Regions from separate parts of the Homo sapiens genome. Here region 1 is linked to region 2. Evidence: promoter capture Hi-C in human tissues and cell types (Jung and others, 2019). All regions are on one chromosome and are shown on one strand. Each heading gives the region's core, a stretch centred on a gene start or on the middle of the fragment in contact. The rest is flanking DNA. Distances are from core to core; before and after follow the strand shown. Region 1 has its middle 17 kb from the start of SLC5A8. Region 2 holds the start of UTP20 (UTP20 small subunit processome component).

Region 1 (5,825 bases), core at 2,199-4,698, 53 kb after region 2:
ACTTCAGCCTTTCAAAGTGCTGGGATTACCAGCGTGAGCCACCGTGCCCGACCCAGTTCCGCCTTTCTAAATTGGCCTCTTAATATTTTAGAACATTTCATTCCTCTGGCCTTGAGTGAAGAATAGAAACTACAGAGGGAAGGATTTGGAGTGGCTAATGTTGGCAGAAGTGAGAATCAGAATTATGGAACTGCAAAGTCCTATGACCTTCCATTTACTGAAGAGGAAACAGAAGCACAGCAAGAGTGCTCAAGAGACTTACCTAATGCCACTCCACACAGTAAGTACTGGAATCCGGGACTTGGACTGCCAATTCCATGTGCTTTCATTTGTGACATTACTTTTTTTTTTTTTAAAAAAAAAGAACAATGTAATGTTTCAATAAAATTTAAAATTTTGGTTAAAAATCACCTATAATCATAACCTTCTGATAACTATTATCATTCTTGTATGTTTCCTTCCAACATTATTTTCATACATTTAACATAATCATAGCCATTAACCATATGTGTTTCTGTTTTTTTTGTTTGTTTGTTTGTTTGTTTTTGAGACAGAGTCTCGCTCTGTTGCCCAGGCTGGAGTGCGGTGGCGTGATTTTGGCTTACTGCAACCTCGGACTCTCAGGTTCAACGGGTTCAAGCAATTCTCCTGTCTCAGCCTCCCGAGTAGTCGGGACTACAGGTGCCTACCACCATGCCTGGCTAATTTTTGTATTTTTAGCAGAGACGAGATTTCACCATATTGCTCAGACCGGTCTCAAACTCCTGACCAAAACGAAGTGTTTTTTTAACCTACAATTTAAGTAAATGTTTAATGTTTATTTATAATTTATTTATTAAATGTTTACATTCACCAGGCACTATTCTAAATAAAACAATGTTGCTGTCCTCACATAATGAAGATTCTGGAGGGGTCAACATAGAATACGTACATAACCAAGTAATGTACAACATTCCACCATGATGAAGATAATTTGTTCCTAAATAAAGGTCCTCGTGGGTGAATTCTCATAGGCTGAAAATGTACCTAACATTCATTTTGACAGAAAAGACACTCTTTTCTCTTAAGCCCCCAAATTAACACCTATTTATGTTAAAATAACATCAATCCCATTAAAACAGGTACAATTATCTCAAAGGTAAATGGTTATCATAGGACTGATGTCTGTGCTCATAAAGCATCAAAGCAACCATATGATTCTCTGCGTTTATGTAATTAAATGTTTAATGAAAAAACAAAAACAAAAACATGAGCTCTTTTTTGTGGCACCTTGGAGGCAATTAGCTGCTTCAGGATGAAGCTAAATATCTCCTCCCCAGCCACTGGCTGACAGACACTCATTGGATTGGACAACGAATGGCAATTTTGTACTTATGAGAAGCATATGGCACAGAGGTTGCTGCCGACGCTCTGGAAGAGTTATGTGGTCCGAGTCAGTGGTGGGACCAACGAACAAGGTTTCCTCATGAAGCAGTGTGTCCTGACCCATGGCTGGGTCTGCCTACTGCTACTGAGTAGGGGCATTCCTGTTATAGACCAAGGAGAACTGGAGAAAGAAAGTGCGAATCTGTTTGGGGTTTCATTGTGCATGCCAATCTGAGCATTCTCCAGTTGGTTATCTTAAAAAAAAAAAAAAAAAGGAGGGAAGGATACTCCTGGACTGACTGATACTATGGTGTCATGTTGCTGGGGGCCCAAAAGAGCTAACAGAAATGCAAACTTTTCAGTCTCTCTAAAGAAGACAATGCCCCCCACCCATATGTTGCCAGAAAGCCCTTAAACAAAGAGAGTAAGATACTGAGGACCAAAGCACCCAAGATTCAGCATCTTGTTACTCTACATGTCCTGCAATACAAACACTGGTATTGCTCAGAAGAAACAGCATACTAAGAAAAATAAGAAAGAGCCACAAAATATGTTAAACTTTTGGCCAAGAGAATGAAGGAGACTAAAGAAAAACTCCAGGAGCAGATTACCAGAGACACAGGTTGTCCCCTCTGTAAGCTTCTACTTCTGAGTCTAGTCAAAAATAAGATTTTTTGACTTACTTAACAAATGAGTAAGATCATACCACCCCCAGCAAAATAATCAATAAAGACTAAGGACATTGATGAAAATGATGGAGAAGATGATGACTTCCATGAGTACTTTAAAGGAGAAACTTAAAGCAACTTGTATAATTTTTAAGACTGCAGAGCTGACATGTGGTAACTTATGCTGAATCTGCTCAGTAGCTTCCCACAGCCCCCAAATCTGAATCACATTCCTTCAATGTGAAGAATGCCTCATAAGCTAAAGTTGAGGAACTAAATAAACTGATTAAGTCTCTGTCTTATGACACCTCCCACCCCCTATCACAGTTCTATCCAGGGCAGCATTGACTAGCGTAATAGCAGGGTGTGATATGTGGTAGGACAGATAGGATGGGGAGGACAGGGAATGATGTTAGGTGGAGATGGGGGAATGACAAGGAGTCTGGTGTGAGGGAGCCCACTGAGGGAGGGCTAGGTGGTAGAAGCTAATGCTGGCCAGGTAGCTAGGTGCTAGATTAGAGAGCACCTTGCTAGCCACACTGAAGACCTGAGTACTTTGGAAGCCAGTGGAAACTTCTGAGCAAGGAGTGACACAATCAGACTCACATGTGAGAAGGAGACTGTGGGTGAGGGAGATAAGTTAGGTGACTATTGTGGGGTTCAACTGAAAGAGGAGGTAAAAGCATGGGTCAGGGTTACAATGGTGCAGACAGAGAGAAATAGTTATAGTTTATCTGTAGTTTGAATATAAAACCAACCGGATTCCCTTTGAATTGAATATGATACATCAGGGAAAAAGAGGAATCAATCTTAGTGCATACTCTATGTCAGGCCTTGTTCCTATGTTTTACATATATTCATAACAATAAAAATAATATCAAATGCCTTTCTAATACCTTCCCTATGCCAGATTCTATATGCTTTAATCTACTTTCACCCACATCACCCTTACAGCAATCCCATAGGGTAGGCACTATTATCATTTCCATTTTCTGATGAGAAACTGAGGCACAGACAGGAAGGGCAATGCACACGGGAAATGCTGGAGCTGATTTTAGACCCCAGACGTTCTGGCTGCAGAGTTGAGATTCACAATCACTGCAAACACTGCATTCCATGGTCACAAGGTTTTGGTCCGAGCAGTTGAGTGGGTGATGTTGCTATCGACCAAGACAGGAATACCTGAGGCAGAGCAGGTTTGGGGGAGTGGATAGCGAAGGCCTGGGTTTTTGGCCATGCTAAGTTTGGGATGCCTGTTAGACCTCTAAGTGGAAATGTTGTGTGGCCATAGGGTGTGAAGAATCTGGAGTTTAGGAAAGGAGCCAGAACTGGAGATAGCTGAGCTATATGGAATGTTCAGCTCATAAACAGAAGTTAAAGCTGCGGGACAGGATGAAAGTACTGAGGAAGACTAAGTCCTGGTCACTCCAGCATTCACAGTCCAGAAATAGGAGGAGCTCCAGCAAAAGAGATTGGGAAGGAGTGACCTGTAAGGCTGGAGGAAACCAGGAGAGTGTGCTGGAAGGTAAAAAATTTCTAGGAGGGAATGATCCACTCTGTGAAATGCTGCTGAGAAGTCCAGCAAAGGGAGGATGCTGCCAGATGTCATGATGCTCAGTTTAATTGTTGCATACAACTTCTTCAAGTGGAAGATTTCTCTTTTTATCTACTCTTGCATTTTCAACCCCTTCACATATAGCTCACAAAGTAGAGGAAGAGAGCTCATCTAACTTCAACGTGAAGTTGTTAATTTGAATTCAGTTTAAATATTTATTGGGTGTCAGGTATGGTACTAGGCCACAGAGATTCAGGGGTAAGTGAATCACAGAGTTCTTGCTTTTTTTTTTTTTTTTTTTTTTAGACAAGGTCTCGCTCTGTCACCCAGGCTGGAATACAGTGGCAATCACGGTTCACGGCAACTTCTATCTCCTGGGGCTCAAGCAATCTTCCCACCTAAGCCTCCCAAGTAGCTGGGATTATAGGTACATGCCACCACATGGGTATTTATTTTATTTTTTGTAGAGATGGGGTCTTGCCATGTGGCCCAGGCTGGTCTCTAACTCCTGGCCTCAAGTGATTTTCCCACCTTGGCCTCCCAATGTGCTGGGATTATAGGCATGAGTCACTATGCTGGGAGGGTTCTTGCTCTAGACAATGGACTAAGCAATGAGAAGGAGGAGGGGAGGGAAAATAGGAGGAGGAGAATGATGAGGAGGGGTGCTGGGGAGGAGGGGAAAGGAGAGGAGAGGGAGAAGGAAAGGAAAGGGAGAAGGGAGGAGGAAGAAGTGGAGAAAGAAGAATACCATGATAATATTAATATTAACATTTGGAGGTTGCCTAATGAACTCAGCCAGAACACCCCATAGAAAAGCCCAATGGTTGACACACCTCCGCTTAACAGGCCATAAAGTACTAGGGGGAGAATAAAGGTTTTTTCACATATGCTCATTCTCAAAATAATGATCTCCTGTGCATGCTTTCTCAGGACGCTACTGGATGATATGCACGGCCAAGACAAGGGAGTATCCAAAGAAGAAACATGAGATTCAGGCAATAAAGAATCAGTAGGATACAGGCCAGAATAATTCCCACCATATTTTAAACTGAGATCCCAAGACAACCACTGTGCACCAGGTCTAGATAACAATCAGTCCACATTGATTGCCTGATTTTCAAAACATATTAAGTGGAGGTTTACGCTCTTGGGGAAGAGTTTGGGAAGGAGATTATGGGGGAAGGTTGCAGGGGGTGTTTCATTTTTGATTTTGTTTCTGAGTATGTAGACATTCCCTTAGTTCCCCAGTGTTCAATACAGAGGCCGCCTCACAGTTACATCAGTGTTCCCTGTCCGGAGTCTCCTGTTAAGTTCTGTGAGTAAGACTTCAGTCTTCTGCTAGGCTAGGGGAGGGACAGTTGCCCAGCTGCACAGGGTAGGCAAGGGGATAGGTGAAATGTCCCTTCATACAGATTTGCAACCAACTCTGTTTTTTAAGTCTCTATCCCAACATAGGCCCTGCTTCAAGAGCTATCACAACATCCAATTCCTGCTCCTTTTGGGGCTTCTGAGATACAAATAAGCCTGCTTCTAAGACCTTCTCATGCTGCTGTCTTGAATTTCAGCTTTCTCTGCTTTTCTAAGTGAGTCTCTTCTTATTCACCTGCTTTTTGGATCCCAGAATTATATGAGTGTTTTGTTTTTTGTCTCTTACTCTCTTTATCCTTATGACTAGAGTCATTTTTGTGAAGTTTGGAAGGGAACAAAAGGTAAAATATGTGCTCAATCTGCCACACTGTTTAAAAAGTGGTTTTCTTTTTAAATTACCAAATATATGCATACAGTTTAATATATATTATAAAGTGAATGATCATTAACCAACACTCAAATCAAGAAATAAACATTGCTAGCTTCCCTAAAGCCCCCCATATGTCCCCACCTGATTACAACTAGTTCTCTCCCTTTAGATGTGACACCATCCTACCTTTTATGATTACTGCTTCCTTCTTTTCCTTTACAGTTTTACCACCTATGTATCCATTGTGAAACAACTGAGTTTAGCTTTGCCTGCTTTTGAATTTTATGTAAATAGAGACATATGGTGCATATTCTTTTGTGTTTGGTTTCTTTTACTCAGCTCTGTAAAATTCAACCACATCATCATTACATATATCCACTTTGGTTATACACGGATACCACAGTCTATCCATGTTACTGTGGATGTACTTCTGAGTTGTTTCTAGTTTGGAGTAAATCTTAATGCTATGAATATTCTTGTACACACTATTTGTGCACAT
Region 2 (5,431 bases), core at 217-2,716:
TTATAGCTTCAGGAATATGGATCTGCAGCAGTGCTTGGAATGCATAAGGGAAAGGGAGAGGCTAGAATCACAAAGACAGCTGAAAGTCAAGTCAATTGTCTAATAGAGCTTCACCCAACAGAACTTTCTGCAAAGATGAAAATGTTCCAATTCTATATTTATTCAATATGTTAGCAACTAGCCACATTTGGGCACCCAAATTTTTAATTTACTTTAAATCCAATTTGTCATATGTGGCTACTGTATGAAACAGCACAGGTCTAAAGCATTTCATGTCCAAAAAGGAATACCTTGAAAAACAATTCACTTCTACTAACAGAAGAAACTAAAACACCATGAACACTTGAAGATTGACTAGTATCACATTCTCTTACCTCCTCATAGCTTGCAGTTCTATCAATCCGGTGAATAATATCAATATTAACATTCCCCAGTCGTTCAGCAAATGTAAGAAACTGGAAGGGAAAGTATATTTAAGATACATAATTAATTAAAATTTATCAGATCTTTAATATCTATTTGAATGCTGCATGTAGGCATCTCTAATCACAAAGGATAAGTGGAAAAATAAACTGAAAAACATACGGCCGTAAACAAATTTACTGCATCACTGTTCAAAGATAATGAATACTTCTATGTTTGCATAATTTCTCTCAGCTATGTCATTTCAAATAAAATTTCCATTGCCAGACTGGTGAGCCTAGGTGGATGCTGGCAATTAGTCTCGCTAGATCTATTAGGTTTCATACCCTCCCATAAGCATGGGGACCTAGCAAAGTCGCTGCAATAAAAGTGTTTTTAAACATATACAGACCTATGATTGTATCCTAAGGAAGACCTGGAAACAATCTATCAAGGGGCAAACAGAGAAAGCGCTGTATATTTGCCCTTAGCTGGGAATCACTCACCGCCAGCCGACTCGCCCAATTCGGTCTTTAAAGATAAAAGAGCAGGGGAGAATTGGTCCTAAGCAATCTCCTGGAATAGTGAATTTAATTCTGGACTACAGGAAATTCCCAGGACTGGCCAGACCCCATAAAACATGGGTGAAACTTGCTGTCCACACTTCTTTCCTCCTCCAACCCATGTTTACTACATCCAGTGTCTCCCTCTTTCGCCGGAGCCTCCAGGAAAGTGACACACTCGGCCCAGAAGTCTGAGGCCCCTGGAGTCTCGCTCAGAGCCTGTCTCACGACTGAGGCAGCGGAGACCCGCGGCTCCCTGCCTAAGCTCCCGCGCTCACCCGGTAGGTGTTCTCGGTCTTGTGGGAAACGGGCTTTGTCTTCATGGCTGCAGAGGGCCAGTGGCCCGCGACGGCCTCGGGAGTGTCGAAGGGATGCAACCGACAGTAAGGAGGGGAAAGCGGCTCACAGGCTATACTCTCCGATTCCCAGATGCCCAGACTTTCTCACGTGCGGCTTGAGCCCCTGGGCGCCGCCATGTTGGAGACAAGGAGGAGCCTGAGTGGGTCACGTGGACGGAAAAAAGAACGGCGCAGGCGCACCCTTTGGTGGGGTGGGGCCTACAGGAGGCGGGGCTGCGCACATAAGGGCGGGCGTTTGGGTGAGGTGTTCTTTTCACTCCCTTCGGTAAAGGTTTAGAAGACAAATGTATTTTCATTATAAAATAAAACATACCTGTAATCGTTATCAACTAACATTACTGTCCCTCACTACGTACCTGCATCGTGCAAAGATCCTTTCATCCATAATTTCACAGTAAAGCTTATTAGGGATGTTAATACAAAGGAGGTACTGCGTCTATCTATATATCTATATATAGATATATACTTTTTTTTTTTTTTTTTTGAGACGGAGTCTCACTCTGTCTCCCAGGCTGGAGGGCAGTGGCGCGATCTCGGCTCACTACAATCTCCGCCTCCCGGGTTCAAGCAGTTCTCCTGCCTCAGCGTCCAAAGTAGCTGGGACTACAGGCACCCGCCGCCACGCCCGGCTAATTCTTTTGTATTTTAGTAGAGACGGGGTTTCACCTTGTTGCCCAGGCTGGTCGCGAACTCCTGAGCTCAGGCAATCCGCCCGCCTCGGTTTTCCAAAGTGCTGGGATTACAGGTGTGAGCCACCGCGCCTGGCCGGTACTGTGTATATTTTTAAGCCAATTTGACACAAGAGGAAACCAAGGTTGTGCAGCTGGTAACTGGCAGTCTTCACTCAGACTCTAAATTTTGGTATTCTTAACCACTACGCTGTAAATAAAATTGAAAAATAGAGAAGGAGTTTTAAGAAAAATCTTTTAATTTCATGCACAACCGCTGTTAATGTTTGGTGTTTTTCCCATCACTTTAATGTCTACACATAGCATGTTGTTAAATTGTACAGTTATATATACATATATGTACAATTTTAAAAAATAATTTAAAAATATAATTATTTACCCCATTTTACATTCATTCATTCATTCAGCAACTATTTCTTGAGAGTCCTCTGTGGACCAGGTACTGTTCTGGGAGCCAAACGAGAAAGGCAATAATAGTATTAATTAATTATTTGAAAATATTCACAGCCTTCAATTCCTGGGCTAAAGTGAGCCTCCCACCTCAGCCTCCCAAGTAGCTAGGGCTACAGGCATGCACCACCACACCCAGCTCTTTTATTATTATTATTATTATTATTATTATTATTATTATTATTTGTAGAGATGGGATCTTGCTATATTGCCCAGGCTGGTATCAAACTTCTGGACTCAAGCAGTCCTCTTGGCTTGGCCTCCCAAAGTGCTGGGATTACAGGGGTGAGCCACCATGCCCAGACTGGAAATACTTGGTCTGAGATGCTTACATTTTAGTCAAGGAGTGATGTTAAGTAGACAATTGGATATATTGTTGTACAGAGCTCACTGTAGCAGTCTGGGCTGCAGACGTGACTTAAATACACCTAAATACCTCAAGTGTGAGGCATTTGCGACTGGGAAAGAGAGCCAGTAAGGTAGAAACAGACTAGTTATGGCATGGAAGCAGAGCTGGTGGCCAACTATACTGCAAATTCGAGGATAGAGAAGTGGTTGCTGGATCTGACAAGGTGAAGGTCACTGGTGACCTTGCTAAGTACAGTCTAGTTGGAAGAAAGGAAGTGAAATATGCATGGATTGAGGAGGTAATCAGAGTTGAGAAAGTGAACATAACACTTTCAAATTGTTATTGGCATTATCACATCAACATTTTCTGTGTCACCACAGGGTTGTTCTAAATATTTTAATGCCTCCATAGCATTTATAGATTTTTTTATAATAAAATATTGACGTGCCTAATGTTCCATTGGCTTTCAGTAGGCTAATAATTGGTCTTTTTTTTTTAAAAGCCTTTTATGGGTCACAGGGAAATCTAAGAAAGCTGTAGAACTTCTCCCAGAAAGATGCAAAGAAGCTCATCCACACTAAAATGTGCACGTTTCAGAGAGTTAGAAGCCTGCAGTTAACTGAGGGTAGAAGCCCCCACTCAAAGCAATATTTTCCCAACCTGTTGCCAAAATCACCCCCACATCATTGTGCCATTTTCCTTCTCTGCAATTTATTTTTGGTAATGGAGTTAACTGGACAATAAGGAGTGAAGAGAAAAATCAAAGAAACTGAAAGAACTGACACAAGTTATATTGACCATTTATTGTTTGCATTGTTCTTCATTACATGACCCTCACACACTGACTTGACTCTGACTGGCTTAACAATATGTCAATAGAACATGGTGGTTGAGAGCATAGATGCTGGAACCAGGTTGTCTGGAGGTAATCCTGGTTCTGCCATTTATTAGTAGGGTCAGTTACCCTTTCAGAATGACATTTCCGTATATGTAAATGAAGCTAACAAAAGTAGCTACCTCACGGGTGGTGATTATGCAGAGTAAATAAGCTAATGGATAAAAGATGCTTAGAATGTGCCAGACACCATAATTGCGCAAGCTCAGAAATTACTTAACCTTTCTGAGACCCAATTTCCTCATCTATAAAATAGAGATGACAATAATACCAGTCTTTCAAGATACTGTGTTGGTGCATAGAGCATGAAATAAATGTTTGCTAAGTGGATAAATAAATGACCATTTATTCTCTACTACCTGGCTACCTGACAAGTTCCTTAAGGGCTGACACCTTATACTTTTTCAACTTTGTGTCATCAGTTCCCTTGAACATAAGAGTTGTTTAATGAATGTCTGTTGAATTAACAAAGCTTATAATACTTACATTGACCCGGACAAATTTAAGAGTAATATAGTTCCAGCATTGGATGTGAATTGCACCACATGATTTTTGGTATCTCTCAAAACTAAGTTTCTAAGCTTTAATGGAATACCGAAAGCATCCGTGAAGAGCACGAGTGTTTCTTATAAACATTTCCTTGCTTCCAGCGTTTGTCCTCTGTCAAGGTATAGGATGAATATCCTATACCATCCTTTATATCCTTTTTCCATTAGGGCTCTGCCTGTCCTAACTACTCCAGCCAGTAAATAACATACATTATTTTTTCATTCTTTTATTCTTAAGCTTTATAGGGCGCTCCTGGAAGTTTTGCTTTTTAATTTTTGTTTCCTTATTGCTTAGCGTGCTGCAATTTCAAGCCAAGAAACTTTAAGAGCATGTAAGAGCTAGGCCCAGTGGCTCATGCCTGTAATCCCAGAGCTTTGGGAGGTCAAGGTGAGAGGATTGCTTGAACCCAGAAATTTGAGACCAGTCTTGGGCAACAAGGCGAAATCCCATCTCTACAAAAAATACAAAAATTAGCCAGACATGGGGATGTGCACCTGTAGTCCCAGCTACTCAGGAGGCTGAGGTGGGAGGAACACTTGATCCAGGAGGTCAAGGCTCCAGTGCTGTGATCCTGCGACTGCACTCCAGCTTGGGTAACAGAGTGAGACCCTGTCTTGAAAGAAAAAAAAGGAAGGAAGGAGAGGGAGAAAGAAGGGAAAGTAAAGGAAAGGAAGGGAGGGGAGAGGAGGGAAAGGAAGGGAAGAAAGCACATGAGGAGTTTACCCAGCCTAGACAAGAAAGTGGAATCCAGAGAAGGCTTCTTGGGGGAAGTGACATCTAAGCTGAGACCTGGAAAATGAATAGGAATTAGCCAGGCAAGGAATGGACATGAATGGTGTTATCTAGGTAGAGGGAGGAGTATAGGCATTTGTCTCAAAATGGTTGAGACAAATTTGGTTACTTTTAGTTTCCAAGGCAAAGCCACACCCTGTCAAATTAGCATTGGCCATGGGTATCATCTTTAGCATCCTTGGACTAATAATAGGAAAGAATAGGGACAAGATGAAGCTCAGAGGTAAGAAGAGCCTTGGTTTTCTCATCTGTAAAGTGAGATAGACATATGAGAAAGTCAACAGTCATATGAGACAGTTGAAAGATTAACACATTGTATCACTTCTCACAGTCATATGAGACCGTTGAAAGATTAATTAATACATTGTATCGCTTCTCAGCCT

The links. The method cuts DNA at HindIII sites, captures the fragments that hold promoters and counts their contacts. A contact is called where the count stands out against the background at its distance.
Region 1: a fragment that was not itself captured here is called in contact with the fragment with the promoter of UTP20 in region 2 in 2 of the 25 tissues and cell types used here (mesendoderm cells and thymus).

The regions. Positions count from the first base shown.
Region 1 is chr12:101,224,346-101,230,170 of GRCh38, reverse strand. It overlaps the pseudogene RPS6P19. Among named protein-coding and RNA genes, the nearest start is that of SLC5A8, 17 kb to the right of the region's middle. The HindIII fragment of the contact is 6,482 bases long and covers 208-5,825 here.
Region 2 is chr12:101,276,140-101,281,570 of GRCh38, reverse strand. It overlaps UTP20 (UTP20 small subunit processome component), which reads right to left and starts at 1,466. Exons shown (of 62, transcript NM_014503.3): 1 at 1,244-1,466; 2 at 375-455. The coding sequence starts at 1,288. RefSeq lists enhancers at 1,393-1,442, 1,176-1,767. The HindIII fragment of the contact is 9,089 bases long and covers 1-2,952 here.